Linked DNA regions of Homo sapiens: regions 1, 3, 4 and 5 are each linked to region 2. Evidence: promoter capture Hi-C in 16 types of primary human blood cells and fetal thymus (Javierre and others, 2016). All regions are on one chromosome and are shown on one strand. The core of a region is centred on a gene start or on the middle of the fragment in contact, and the rest is flanking DNA. Distances in the headings are between cores, read along the strand shown. Region 1 overlaps SND1 (staphylococcal nuclease and tudor domain containing 1). Region 2 holds the start of LEP (leptin). Region 3 overlaps SND1 (staphylococcal nuclease and tudor domain containing 1). Region 4 overlaps SND1 (staphylococcal nuclease and tudor domain containing 1). Region 5 overlaps SND1 (staphylococcal nuclease and tudor domain containing 1).

Region 1 (2,700 bases), core at 195-2,694, 490 kb before region 2:
CCGCTACACCAGCATTTTCAACCCTAGCTCATGTGTCCTTACATTCATTTCCATAACAACTGTTGTTGAGCCTCAAACTCCAGGGATTATGATTTGAGGTGGGAGTGAATAGCAGGAACCAATGAATGCTTAAATGAGAAATCTTTTAGTAATGTCACAGACTCATCAGAGGAGGGCATTAGAGAAGGAAAGGAAGAATGGAAACGCCACAGGCATCCTGCTGGTATGGTGAAAATGTCCCTCTTTTCCAATTTTCTGTGCCTTATTTCATTGGGAGATATTTTGATTGGCTTTATGTGGGCGGCCTTTTCTTACTAATTCCTTCTTCCTATGAACATTCATCTTTTGAGTATGGTGGTGTCTTAGGCTAGAAAACTGATGTCTGGCCTTTGTAGGTATAAATACCTATTTATACCTGGCTTATGTGATGCCTAGTCTCTGGTCCCCTTCAGTCCATAGCACTGACTGGCCACTTTGAGCATATGGTAGTGAGCTGCAGATATGACTAAGTAAGGCTGCTAGCATTCAGTCTTAGCCATTTAAGTAGTCAGCATATGCTAGTAATGTTTGTATTCAGTATAACTTGGAGGCAAGGTGTTTTTTACTAGCACATTTTGGTTTTCTCGTTGTTGTTATTGTTATTAATTTTTTAAAAAGCTTACATTGGGGATAATTGAGAATAAATGCCTTTGCATTCAGCATGCATGAGATGTTTTGCTTGTGTATAGGGAGGTTGTTGCTTGGGTGGAAGAGTTAGAATTTGTATGTAGAAATGAAGGAAAAATGTGATTTGCAGGGCTACTTTCCAGGTCGACCAAGTTCTTCAAAGTGACAAACATCTCTGTTCCTTTGAAAATTATAGAGACGCTGGTGTGCCCTATCATTAAATGAATTGTCAAAGGCCCTGGATCCTATGGTTTGGATATAAATAGCACATGTGGCTGTGGAAAGGACTCTGTTGAGTGTGGGATTGCCTATGCAATTCCTGCCCTTGTCTCTCTGAGGAATCATGGACTTGAAGTACTTTCTGCTTCTGCTTTATATTGTTTTTATTCAAGGTTCAGATGGTATTGCAAGGAATTGGCATTGGGTATTGAAGGACCTTTCTGTGAGGATGAGTTCTCTGGATAAGAATGATTTTTCTAGCTACAGTCTTGAAGGAAAATTGGAGTCAGATAATCCAAAAACTTCATGTCCAGCCTGGAAGATCCTTTAGAAAAAATTGTTTTTTTCTACTGACAGGAGTTATCAGCACCTGGTTGTGACATATTTGACAAGACTGAACATCAGTGCTTTAAGGAAATGACTCTTGCATGTATAGGCCCACAGCATGGTATTTTCTTAAAGAATTAATTTTTCAGGACATGCCACTATAATAATTTTTAGCAGTGCTTTAGCTAAAGGTGACTTTTGCCTTTCCATTGTCAATGTCACCATGTCGTATTGTCACTTACTTGGGTTTTCTCTCCCTCCTTTGCTTTTTATTTGTCTAGTGTAGGGACAGACTATAGAAGACAACAAGGGAGAACAGGGTTTCTTGATCCTTGTAGGATTAGTATGTTTGTGTATGATGATGGCTCAAATGTAGTCAATGTTCCCCCTTCCCACCCCTTTTACTCCATGTATGTGTTATTGCTTTGGATCAAGAACATCTTGGTTTGTTTCTGTCTTTCTTTTATGTTTGGTTACCAACTGGCCAAGTCAGTGTTCACCTTGTTTCTGGCCCAGTGGAAACACAAACTTGCATGAAAATAGGATATTGAAGTGAGAATCTAACACTCACGGGAATCATTCCATGTTGTCTCCACTGTGCCTGTGATTCTTTGTTTTGCTTGCCTGGCCTTGTCTCCTGTATCTTCCTCTTGACAGCTTGTTTCCTGCCTTTTGATTCCACACAAACGGTGATACCATAGTATGCTTACCCAGACTGGGTCTTTCACTTTTTCCTAGGATGCTTGTGTACAAGGTACTGTCCTTTCAGAACACGCTCATCCCCCTTTGGGTTCTGGATCGGAATCAGATTAATCAGGTGTATGCTGGTAGTTGTGTGTCTGAATTGGTAGTCATGAAGTCTGATTGTCTGGATCGGAATTGCATCATTAATCTGATGTAATTTTAAAATCAAGATACCCTAATAGTATGAGTGAGAATTGGACTAAGTATCTGGTGAGAGTAGGAAAGAGATGAAATATTTCTTCTTCCCCTAAAGGAATTTATAACCTAACTGAGCAATAAGCTTAAACACACAAAATGTTTTTAAAAGTAAGAAGAAAATACGCATTAGAAATCATATTCCTACTTCAGTAGAAAGTGAACAAAACTACATGAATTGGTCTGTTAGAAACTGCTGTAATTGTTAAGAGGCAGGAGAAAGTGTTTCAGGATGGGGTGGAACAGGGTGGTTTAGTAGAAGAAATGACATTCAAGCAGGTCTTGAAGGGTAGCTGAATGGAAGGTGCAGGCCTATGTGGGTGCTGGAAGTAAACAGTTTTTTTGGACTAGTAGCCTCCAAACCTTGAGTATAGACTCACAGAGAAGCTTTAAAGAAACAACACCCAAAACCAAGAAATAGCAACAGTAACAAAACAGATTCCTGCTGTGCACCCCCCATGAAGTCAGAATTATCTGTGTAGGAGGGGGATATGCAGACATGGATATGTTAATGTATTTTTTTCTTTCGTTTTTTTTTTTTTTTTTTTG
Region 2 (2,700 bases), core at 82-2,581:
TTATTGAGACAGAGTTTCACTCTTGTTGCCCAGGCTGTAGTGCAATGGTCTGATCTTGGCTCACTGCAACCTCCACTTCCCAGGTTCAAGCCATTCTCCTGCCTCAGCCTCTCAAGTAGCTGGGATTACAGACACTCACCACCACACCTGGCTAATTTTGTATTTTTAGTAGAGATGAGGTTTCACCATGTTGGCCAGGCTGGTCTCGAAATCCTGACCTCAGGTGATCCACCCACCTTGGCCTCCCAAAGTGCTGGGATTACAGGCTTGAGCTACCACGCCTGGCTGGGTTGGTTCTCAATGGAGTGGTTTGTTTTTGGAGCTGCTCTGCGCAGTGGGGACCAGAATAGGCCTGGGTTCCTAGCCCATTGCTATTCCTTACCAGCTGTGGATTCTAAGGAAAGTCATTTAACCTCGCTGGACCTTAGATTCCTCATCCCTGAAGCCCAAGGGTAAAACAAAACAAAACAAAACAAAACAAACCAACCCATCATGTAAAGCGGGGAACTACAAACGATACAGGTGAAACATGCCTACCACACCACTCACAGGCTATGATGACAAAAACGTGGCTACATCTGGGACCACCCCCCAACCCCCACTTTGTACGTAGGAAATACGGAGTTGAGGATGGAGACCCACAGTATGTCCAGAGTGTCCCCAAAGGCCACAGTGCCCGCCTGGAGCCCTCCAGAGAGCGTGCACTCCCTGGGGTGCCAGCCAGAGACAACTTGCCCTGAGGCTTGGAACTCGATTCTCCGCGTGCCAGAGAAGGGGTGGGACTTCAGAACCCCCAACCCCGCAATCTGGGTCGGGGAGCCTGGCGCACTGCGGGCCGCTCCCTCTAACCCTGGGCTTCCCTGGCGTCCAGGGCCGTCGGGGCCGAGTCCCGATTCGCTCCCACCCCGAAGCCGCGCCAGGACCAACGAGGGCGCAGCCGTATGCCCCAGCCCGCTCCGCGGAGCCCCTCACAGCCACCCCCGCCCCGACCGCGCCCCGCGCGGCTCGAAGCACCTTCCCAAGGGGCTGGTCCTTGCGCCATAGTCGCGCCGGAGCCTCTGGAGGGACATCAAGGATTTCTCGCTCCTACCAGCCACCCCCAAATTTTTGGGAGGTACCCAAGGGTGCGCGCGTGGCTCCTGGCGCGCCGAGGCCCTCCCTCGAGGCCCCGCGAGGTGCACACTGCGGGCCCAGGGCTAGCAGCCGCCCGGCACGTCGCTACCCTGAGGGGCGGGGCGGGAGCTGGCGCTAGAAATGCGCCGGGGCCTGCGGGGCAGTTGCGCAAGTTGTGATCGGGCCGCTATAAGAGGGGCGGGCAGGCATGGAGCCCCGTAGGAATCGCAGCGCCAGCGGTTGCAAGGTAAGGCCCCGGCGCGCTCCTTCCTCCTTCTCTGCTGGTCTTTCTTGGCAGGCCACAGGGCCCCACACAACTCTGGATCCCGGGGAAACTGAGTCAGGAGGGATGCAGGGCGGATGGCTTAGTTCTGGACTATGATAGCTTTGTACCGAGTTCTAGCCAGATAGAAGGTTACCGGGAGCTGGGGAGCGTTGGATTTGCTGCTGGGCTGTGCCGGTGCCCAGAAGGCAGGACCTTGCAGAACCAGCCAGGTCCCTGGGAGACTGTCAGACCCACCAACCTGGTGGCATTCGCAGAGCTGAGATGCATTGGAAATTGCCTTGGGCACATCCCCAAAGATCAGGATGTCCCACCCCAGTCTGAAGGAGATAAAGTTGGGGGTAGGAGAGACGCAGATGCAAGTGATCAGTCTCAGTCCCAGACATTGCCTTGCTCTGCGGGTAGGAATTCAGGATTCATTTTCCAGGGAAGTTCCTGACCTCTGAATGAGAGGGGCTGTGTAAGGCCAATGCCTGGGAGGAAGGCAAGGATGAGTAGAGGTGGGGGGAAACAAGTGTCAGGAAGACTCAAAATCTTCCAGAGAAATTGTGCAGGGTCTTACCAGATCTGTCCTCAAAGCCATGCAAATTGCCTTCTTTGCAATGCATACAATGAGGTGTCTCTGGGGGTCAGAACTGGTTATTAGGGAACTTCTAGCCAGGACTGCTAAATACGCGCTGTTGGCCCACCAGGCTCACCTATAGCCTTCCTTCAGTCTGGGCTTGGTTTGGATTTCACTGTGGGTGCCATCGCCTTTACACTCCTGTTTCTATAGTTTAAAGATAGTGGTGCTTTGGGAAAGTGACTCCTTAAATACAGTTAGGTCCAAGTGAGACAAGTGGCCTGGCTGTCATTTCAGAATAGCAGCTTCCAAGAGGTGATTAATTTCTGTTGGAAGGGTGATCTTTGGGGAGGTGGGTGAAGAGCAGAGACTTGGTGGTACCGTTCCAGGAGCACAGGCTCTCTTCCTTTGCAGTGCAGAATGACCTCTGGCAGCCGGAGTTGTGTTTGTTCTGTAGGATTCTGAGGTGGGCCATGGGCAGCTGGAACTGGGGAATTTTGCCAATCTCTTTCATATTAGGATTGTCTGCAGAACCAGATATGGAGGCTTCTAGCAACGTGAGTGCTCCTGTTCTAATGCCCTTAGAAACAAGAAGGCCACACTGATCATTTCTCTCACTTAGGCAGGGAGACAAGGCAAGAGAGAAACAGTGGATGCTTTTAGGTTCTTTCCCTTCCCAAGCAGTTGTGGACATTGGGCTGAGGGGAACATTTCCACATTGGCTAAAGGAGCGTCCTCCTCA
Region 3 (2,700 bases), core at 104-2,603, 460 kb before region 2:
TGAAAGCCTGTCCCAGTGTTCTCTGTTTAGGGTTTTGCTCACTAATCATAATGACGCCATTGTTCTTTTCTCTTTTGCTAGAATTGCTTCAGTGCCTTAACAGGCAAATTAGACAATGAGAAGAAGAAATTTTTTATTTTAGATCCCTTTTTATCCTATTTGGTCATTTAGAGCACCAGGCAGTCTATCTCCTAAAGAATGAGTTTCACAGTGCACTGGGGATTTAGTTGCCTAAGGTGTCCTATGGCTGAAAAGTGAATTCTTTATGATTTTGGCAGCATTTAGAATTCTTCTGAGCTACGGAAAACTCAAGTTTTATGACCTCTTTGTTAGGCTGCATTGCAGAGACACTGTAATATTGCCTAGTCAGTGAGAAAGATGACTAGGTTTGTTCTGCGGGACATCAAAGAATAAAAGTAGGATCAGATATATGGGAACATATTTCTGCTCAATGTGAAGAAAATAACTTTCTAAGAAAAGTGTCTGGTAGAAGAGAGTGAGCTGCTTCAGGAGAAGGTAGGAACATGGAGAAGATTTTACAGTACATGGGAAGCTGAACTTAAAAGACTTTGAAGTTCTCATCCAACCCACAGACCCTGTGATCCTATGACCTTATAAAAATGAAGAGACCAATTAGTTCACCATAGAAGTAATACGTTATTATTAGTATTTCCACACATGGCTTGCAAGTGACTTAGCTGGTTCTTGTTGAAGCTGCCTTCACTATGTGGCAATCATCGTTCCTCCCCGCCCCCCCTTCATTATACTAATATATATAATTGAACACAGAATTCATCGAGAAAAATGGAAAACTGATTTTATTGCCTTGTGATATTGACTTTTCTTTATAATTGTAACTCCTCCCAGTTATGCCAAGTTGCTGGGGCAGAGACAATAGCAGTGCTTTGGCTCCATAGGAGTTAAGAAAGGAAGAAGAAACTTTTTTGTTCATTTGATTTTTTTTTTTCCACTTGGAATAGAAATCCGGTTCTGAACCTTGTTTCATGGTTTGATTTATAAGTCCTTCCTTTTAGCCAAGGAATATCTTTTTGCTAACCTTAGAGCAAATTAGCCAGATGCTTATATATTTGATAGAGCTTTTCCTTCTGTTATTAATAATTAAAGTAAAAGCAATCATAATGAAATGTCAATTCAGTAATAATGAAAATGTTCCAAAGCATGTTCAGATTTGTAATCTCATAGAATACATGAGAATAATTACCTGGATTATTCCCAGTAATCGTTTCATAGAGGGGAAGCCCAAGATACTGAACTTTGGTATAATTATTTGCAGTACTTAGTCCAGATTCCCCTTTTTCACTTAAGACAACATCCCATAAAATTTTCGCTTGGGTTATATACAATTAATCTGAGTGGTGACCAGTTTCTTGATGATCAAGCTGTAATATCTGATCCTAGTTAGGTTGCATATCTTTGAGGAGGCAGAGAATAGTTTCATGCCCTGCCTGGCTGGATCCTCAGTAACTATTCTTAGTCCAGTGCCTTATTTACCTGTCTGACTTCCTATTGTTTCTTGATTGTCTCTCCCAAGCAGGGGAGATTAATCTAAACACACTGACCTCCTTTGTGGTTGTTGAGGATGATCACAGTTGAGGTCTGGTTGTTTTCCAGGCAGAAAAGGGAAGTTAATTTAATAGGATCCTAATCACAATAGTGGTTTCTGTGATATATGTGCATGAGTTTGAAAAGCAGTCCTGGGGTCCTGCATTCTCACATTGGCCTGCACTGCCTTTTGCCAGGGACTCTGATAAGATAACTGGTCTTCAGATGAGGAATGTATTTCTTTTCATGTTAAGGCATCATTAAACAGCCTGGGGAGCTTATTTTTCTATTTAAGCCTCATTCTGTCATAGGTTACAATCCTTTGGGGGGCAGAGATGTGTTGTTAGTTCGCTGAAAGTAGAATTTAATTGGCTATTCTACAGAATAATGATTTTTAATTTGGCAAGAGAGTCATGATGCAGTCAGCCTTTTAGGTCTTTAAAGTTGTATGGAAGTTAAAGAAAGTAACCAAACCTTACTTGGAACACTTGGCTCCTCCCTCTGCAAAGCAGGGCTGTAGACCTCTGTGTGTGATTGTGGGTTGGGCACACTGGAGCTTCTGGCCATCATGAGTAGCTGTAGTGGGGGCAGGGAGAGTGAGGGTTGTCTGCTTCACCACTGACCTTTTCCAGTGGCCTGGACTGAGTTTTTCAACTGCTGTATGTGTATTCGTTATAGAAATGCTGAAGACTACAACTGCCCAGCAAGTGAAGCATTATCTTCCTCCCCATTTTCCTAAATAGGAAGTAGACCTATTGCAACACCTAGTGTAGTAATGTATGTGGCAGTGATTTCCTCTTTAATTCAGCAAACATGCTGCAGGAGAATGGGGACTCATGGTAAGATTCTGCACATTGGAAATTGGGGACAGATATCAATTCTGGATATATTTCCTTTAAAGGGTAGTTAGTTATCACATGCCTTCTGAGGATTGCATGAGTCACCTTCTAGTGTGGCACCCCTTTTCATTTGGGTATGTAGAGCCATGGTTACTGTTCAACAGACGTTGAACCAGATGTGCCTGCTATTACAGAAGTGAAATCTGACAGCTGTTACCTAAACTCTTCAGTGGCTCTTATTCTATCTACCTCAGCCTGTTTTGATTTTTGAAGCCTTATTAGATACAACAATTTTTGC
Region 4 (2,700 bases), core at 188-2,687, 480 kb before region 2:
ATGCAATGGCATCATGTTTTGCTGTTTGGGACCATGCAGTCAAGCTGGCTAAATATGTAGGTAACTTCATCAAATGTACATAATCTGTATCAGGGTAGTCCACCTCTGAAAATTCTAAGGAAAGGATTTAAAGGAAGAGCCAAGCTTTGTGCCTAAAGATGTTTACTGTAACCTGGCCTCTCAGAAAAGGTAGAAACAGTCTAAATAGCCAGAAATAGGGGAATAGTGAGCACATTCAGGTGACAAAACTCCTAGAACTCATGTCACATAGAAATATGTAATGCTGTCATTCTAATCTGGAATAATTCTGGTATAAAATATATATAAATGTTACTTAAAATCAAGCATGTGAGGCTGGACATGTTGGTGCACACTTGTAGTCCTAGCTACTCGAGTTCTTTGCACTCAGAAATTCGAGACCAGTCTGAGTAACATAGTGAGACCTGTCTCATAAAATCAAGCATATGTGCACATCATATATATACATTCAGTCAAATTAATTTTTTTTGAGACAGAGTCTTGCTCTGTTGCCCAGGCTGGAGTGCAGTGGCAAAATCACAGCTCATTGCAGCCTTGATGTTCTGGGCTCAAGAGATACTCCTGCCTCAGCCTTTCAAGTAGTTAGGACTACGGGTGCACACTACCATGCCCAGCTAATTTTTTTATTTTTTGAAGAGATAGGGTCTCACTTTGTTGCCTAGGCTGGTCTCAAACTGAGCATGATTTTTGTTTCCATTTATTTCTATTAATAATAATATGATACTTGTTAAATTGATTTATTGATAATTGACAGCAGGTGATCTTTTTTTTAAGGAAAAACTTACGGACAAAAAAACCCAGGACTATTCTATTTACTAACTTAGTTTTTGGTATCATTCTTATTTTAAGTAGTTATGAGGATACTTTTTCTGCATTATGTTTCAGAAGCACTAGTATTCTAGAAAAGCGTAGGGCCAGGCAGACATGGTGGCTAATGCCTGTAATCTCAGTATTTGGGGAGACTGAGGGAGGAGGATTGCCTCAGCATAGTGAGACACTGTCTCTACTCAAGATTAAAACAAATCAGCTGGATGTGATGGTGCATGCTTGCAGTCCCAGCTACTTTGGAGGCTGAGGTGGTTGCAGTGAGCTATGACTGAGCCACTGCACTCCAGCTGGGGTGACAGAGCAAGACCCTGTCGCAAAAAAAAAAAAAACAAAAAAACAAAAAAACAAAAAACCCAAGAGAAAGAAAAGCATAAATTGAAACCTACTGACATACATTGCTGATTCCTATTAATTTCAAATAATGATACAATTTTTTATGGGATAGTATGTAATTCTAAACTGAATATTAGCGATTTCATAAGAGCAAACTGAAGGTTGCCATTGACTTTTTACTTATTGATAATAAAAAACACTTTTTGTTTCTTTTGCCATAGGAGCTATCACCTACCCTGTGGCCATTCCCACACATTATGTGTACTTCCACTTCCACATCTCTTTTGGTTAGCTCCACTGAGTAGGTACAGTGTGTGTGTGAATGCGAAGTATTTTAATAGTGCAATTTGGCTTTTCATGGTCCTTAACTCTGGAAGGAACTCCATGCTCATTAAGTTTGTGGTGTTGCTGTATTGCAGATGCTGCTGAAGGCTTCCTCTGCCCTAGGCTGCCATCTTTAGTTTGCCTGCATAGAGTAGAGTAACAAAACCAAACCAAATCAGAACTTTGACACCGATGTGGCAGGCTGTGCTTATTATCAGAATATCTTTTAATGTTTGTGTATTTGAGTTTTCGTTGAGCTGATTTTCAGAAATGCTGTCTTTTTAAATTTCCCATTTGCATTTCTGTGTCAAAGTAAAGGATTTGGAATCTGAAAAAGAATAATGTCTAACTTGGTACCAAATAATGTTTCCAGGACTGGTTTGAAGGATCAGATGTGAGTTTTTCAAATTGGAACCTTTTCTAATGGGCCCCTGGGAAATGTCTTAGCTAAATTGCAACAGTGACTGGTGAAGTCGATCGAGGTAAATTGCTCCCATTGCTGAGGGTTCAGAAACCAGGCAGTGGAAGCTAAAATTTCAGGGGAAATCGGGCGGAACTATTGCAGATGGTTTCCCCCTTGAATAGAGATGGGGGTTGGTGTCGCTGTTGATGAATGGGAGGAGATTAAAGCCTGATTTTTGCAACGAGTTGGTAACATTCTCTTTGGGAGACTAAAGAGGAATTTATGAGAAGACCATCAGAATCAGTTAGGTGATTATTTTCAATTTTGACTACAAATGACATCTAGGAACACACCATGATGCCACTGGACTCTGTAGTGGTCTTTATTAGAAAAGTAGCAACAAGAGACTTTTTGTGATGTTTACCCTCAGTGAGCTCAGAGGTCGAGGAATTGCCCAGAATCTTGCAGATTTTCATTTAACAGTCAACCATTGAGCATTTCTGATTTGCATTTAAAAAAAATGAACCTGGCTGGTTTTGACTATTTGTGGTGATATGTTAGAATACAGATCCTCATGCAAGTATTTGTGATTGGCACGTCTCACTCAGACATATGTCTCACTCAGACATCTTCTTTGTGTTTGAGGAAGCCCCTTAAGCTCTGTGCACAGTGAGAATAGTAAAATATCACAGAATCGTGTGGCAACATTAGGCCCTTAGTAATTGGTAAAACTTGATACTAACAACATCTGTCTGTCCATTTTTCTCAATCTC
Region 5 (2,700 bases), core at 49-2,548, 510 kb before region 2:
CTTTCTCTTTTATTTATGAGATACTGATTGCAGAGCTACCTACACTGTGTTTAGATAAATTACTTTTTTTTTTTTTTTTTTTTTTTACATAACATTTATATTCAAGGCAAGTTTAGTGCAGTCATCCAGTGCTTCGCATTTTTGCAGGCTGGGCTGTAGGTTTCATTCCTTGGTGGGCTAATTAGCTTTGTACTGGGAAAATTTTGTGCAATTCAGAAACCAAACATTTAAGTTCCTTGTGTACTTTAGGCACTGTAGGTCTGGGAAATTATTTTTATGAATAAGGTGTTTATAATTTTAGGATCCATATCTCTAATCCTGACAAGTATGTGTGTGTGTTGTGGTCGGTCACCAGGTAGACTTTAGACTGGATGATGGATTATGGATGAAGCAGCATCATTTCTGTCACTGTTCTAGAAAAAAGCTTTTCATAACCGAGACTGGAATGGGAAGCTGAAGGACACAAATGATTTCCCTACCAGATGACAGGCCAATTGCTTAGGCATATTTTTGATGTCACTTTTCATTTTAGCCTTCCTCTGAAAATCTACGGTCAATTTATGGGCTGTTCACATTGGACAGCTCTTTATTTATTTATTTATTTGAGACGAAGTCTCGCTCTTGTTGCCCAGGCTGTAGTGCAATGTGGCGATCTCGGGTCACCACAGCCTCTGCCTCTGCCTCTGCCTTCAAGCGATTCTCCTGTCTCAGCCTCCCGAGTAGCTGGGATTACAGGCATGAGCCACCACATCCAGCTAATTTTGTATTTTTAGTAGAGATGGTGTTTCTCCATGTTGGTTAGGCTGGTCTCAAACTCCGACCTCAGGTGATCCACCCGCCCCGGCTTCCCAAAGTGCTGGGATTACAGGTGTGAGCCACCGCGCCCAGCCTGACATTGGACAGCTCTTAGTCTCACCATCTACTCTGATATCCGTCTGTTTTTGGCAAATGCCTTTGCCTGGTTTAGTAGTGTATTGGTGGCCACCAAGGAGTATTGCTGTTTCACAGTAGGGTCTCTATTCAGTTTAGCTGTGAAGACATTCTGGAGACTTTGTCTTCCTTGCCTTTTCATTTCTCTGCTAGAAGCCACTTGATGTAATAGCCTTCATCCTTGTTTCACTTTATTGGGCAATTAGTGTGGATAAGCAGAAATATCCCCTTTATGTGTGTTCAGACATTGGTCTCAGAATCTGCTTACCTCTGCTGTCCTGCTGGTTCTGGATAGCCCACATGATGGACGCCTGTAGTTCTGCTGTAAAATACTTTTTCATTGTTTTCTGCATTTTTTTCTCCTTCTCTACTCAGTTTGATTTTTCTGGGTCATGTAGATTTGTCATTTCTTCAGATCTGTTGCTAACTAAATGTCTAGCACATAGTTGATACTCAGGTGTTAGATAGTGTCTCATTGCATCCTCACTGGGGGCCTTTACTCATTATTCATAGTTTGGGGATATAGGGATGGGCAGAATATGCTGACACTTGGCTTTCTGATTCTACCACTCTGCCTTTCCTAGGACATGTTCCTCATCACTACTGGGAACGCGGGACTTTTTTCACATGCTGTTGTCTTTTGTAAGGTGGGCCACAATTAGGAGAAAGCCACATTCATATTCGTATGGAGCTGCCTTTAGCAGCATCTGCTTCTCCAGCTGGAGAGGCTTGTTTTAGAACGACTGGCATGCGGAAGCGGTAGGTGGAGGTCTGGGAGGAGCTGCGTAGCCAGGGCTCCCCTTCCAGCCTCCCGTCTCCCTTAGGCTCTTTCTGGCCTGAGGCATGGTCGCCATGGGTGGGGGCACTGCCCGCCCGATTCTGGTTGGACCCCCTTTCCTCTACTTCATACCGCAGCTGCTGTGAGCGAGTGCACTGTGCTCTGCACAGGAGAATTGGCAGACAGTTCCATATGCTGGTTTTGGCCATTGGGACATTCAGGATTATTAGGCCAGTTTGTACTTTAAGAGGAGGGAGACTTGACATCGCTCAAAGCAGCTTATTTTATTTATTTCTATTTCTTATAAAGGGGAAAGAAGCTAGCCCAGCCCTTAGCTGTTCCTTTCAACGTAGCCGGCTCAACGTTTTCCTCAGGAAAACATGCAGGGTTCCTCACAGCTGCTTGAGCCAGGCTCTGTCCTTCCTTCGCAGATTGCCCCGTGGCTGCCTGCCTCTTCACTCTCCTAAAGCTTTTTGGCTTTACCTTCCTTCCCTCACTCCTCCCAGTCTTCCCTCAGAGGACTGACTGGTTCTTTCAGCCTAGACACTCCTGTTTGCCTGCCAAGTTACCCTTCTTCCGGAGGTGCATAGCCTCAGCACTGTCAGAGTTCAGGAGAACAGAAGCTCCTCCAGTGAGAAGCCAGTTAATAACAGCTTTTGGACCCATTGTTGTTATTATTAGATATCCATAAAATCTAGCAGGTAGAGAACCGTCACTGGGGCTCTGCTGGAGAGATATGTCTCAATCCTAAAAGATACAAATTAGTCCCAGAGTACCTGATACCGTAGACGGAACCTGACAAACTGGAAACTCAGTGTGATAAAATCCTATAACCTTTCATCTCTCACCCCCATCACCCAGTAAGAAGTGCATTCTCAGGGCAGAAGCTAATGGTGTTGAATGTCTCTCTCTTGTCTCTTTATCTAGGAATACAGTGGAGTGTGCTCCTGTGGGAACACGCTGTCTCTTTGCCTTTGTGCCCACCCCAGAGA

Evidence for each region. Contacts are between HindIII fragments. The CHiCAGO score rates a contact against its expected background, and 5 or more counts as called.
Region 1: a fragment that was not itself captured here is called in contact with the fragment with the promoter of LEP in region 2 in 13 of 17 cell types (M1 macrophages, naive CD4 T cells, total B cells and 10 more); the score reaches 10.8 in M1 macrophages.
Region 3: a fragment that was not itself captured here is called in contact with the fragment with the promoter of LEP in region 2 in 2 of 17 cell types (M1 macrophages and monocytes); the score reaches 5.5 in M1 macrophages.
Region 4: a fragment that was not itself captured here is called in contact with the fragment with the promoter of LEP in region 2 in 2 of 17 cell types (naive CD4 T cells and M1 macrophages); the score reaches 6.7 in naive CD4 T cells.
Region 5: a contact is called between a fragment that was not itself captured here and the fragment with the promoter of LEP in region 2, in 8 of 17 cell types (naive B cells, naive CD4 T cells, total CD8 T cells and 5 more). The highest score is 7.8, in naive B cells.

Annotation. Positions count from the first base shown.
Region 1 is chr7:127,746,364-127,749,063 of GRCh38, forward strand. All of the region lies in intron 10 of SND1 (staphylococcal nuclease and tudor domain containing 1), which reads left to right. Among named protein-coding and RNA genes, the nearest start is that of SND1, 96 kb to the left of the region's middle. The HindIII fragment of the contact is 1,579 bases long and covers 656-2,234 here.
Region 2 is chr7:128,239,947-128,242,646 of GRCh38, forward strand. It overlaps LEP (leptin), which reads left to right and starts at 1,332. Exons shown (of 3, transcript NM_000230.3): 1 at 1,332-1,360. RefSeq lists promoters at 1-1,360, 1,114-1,360 and a cis regulatory region at 1,278-1,286. The HindIII fragment of the contact is 7,258 bases long and covers 1-2,700 here.
Region 3 is chr7:127,780,632-127,783,331 of GRCh38, forward strand. The region is part of intron 10 of SND1 (staphylococcal nuclease and tudor domain containing 1); the gene reads left to right. Among named protein-coding and RNA genes, the nearest start is that of SND1, 130 kb to the left of the region's middle. The HindIII fragment of the contact is 4,942 bases long and covers 1-2,700 here.
Region 4 is chr7:127,762,857-127,765,556 of GRCh38, forward strand. The region is part of intron 10 of SND1 (staphylococcal nuclease and tudor domain containing 1); the gene reads left to right. Among named protein-coding and RNA genes, the nearest start is that of SND1, 110 kb to the left of the region's middle. The HindIII fragment of the contact is 2,591 bases long and covers 143-2,700 here.
Region 5 is chr7:127,729,377-127,732,076 of GRCh38, forward strand. The region is part of intron 10 of SND1 (staphylococcal nuclease and tudor domain containing 1); the gene reads left to right. Among named protein-coding and RNA genes, the nearest start is that of SND1, 79 kb to the left of the region's middle. The HindIII fragment of the contact is 1,753 bases long and covers 423-2,175 here.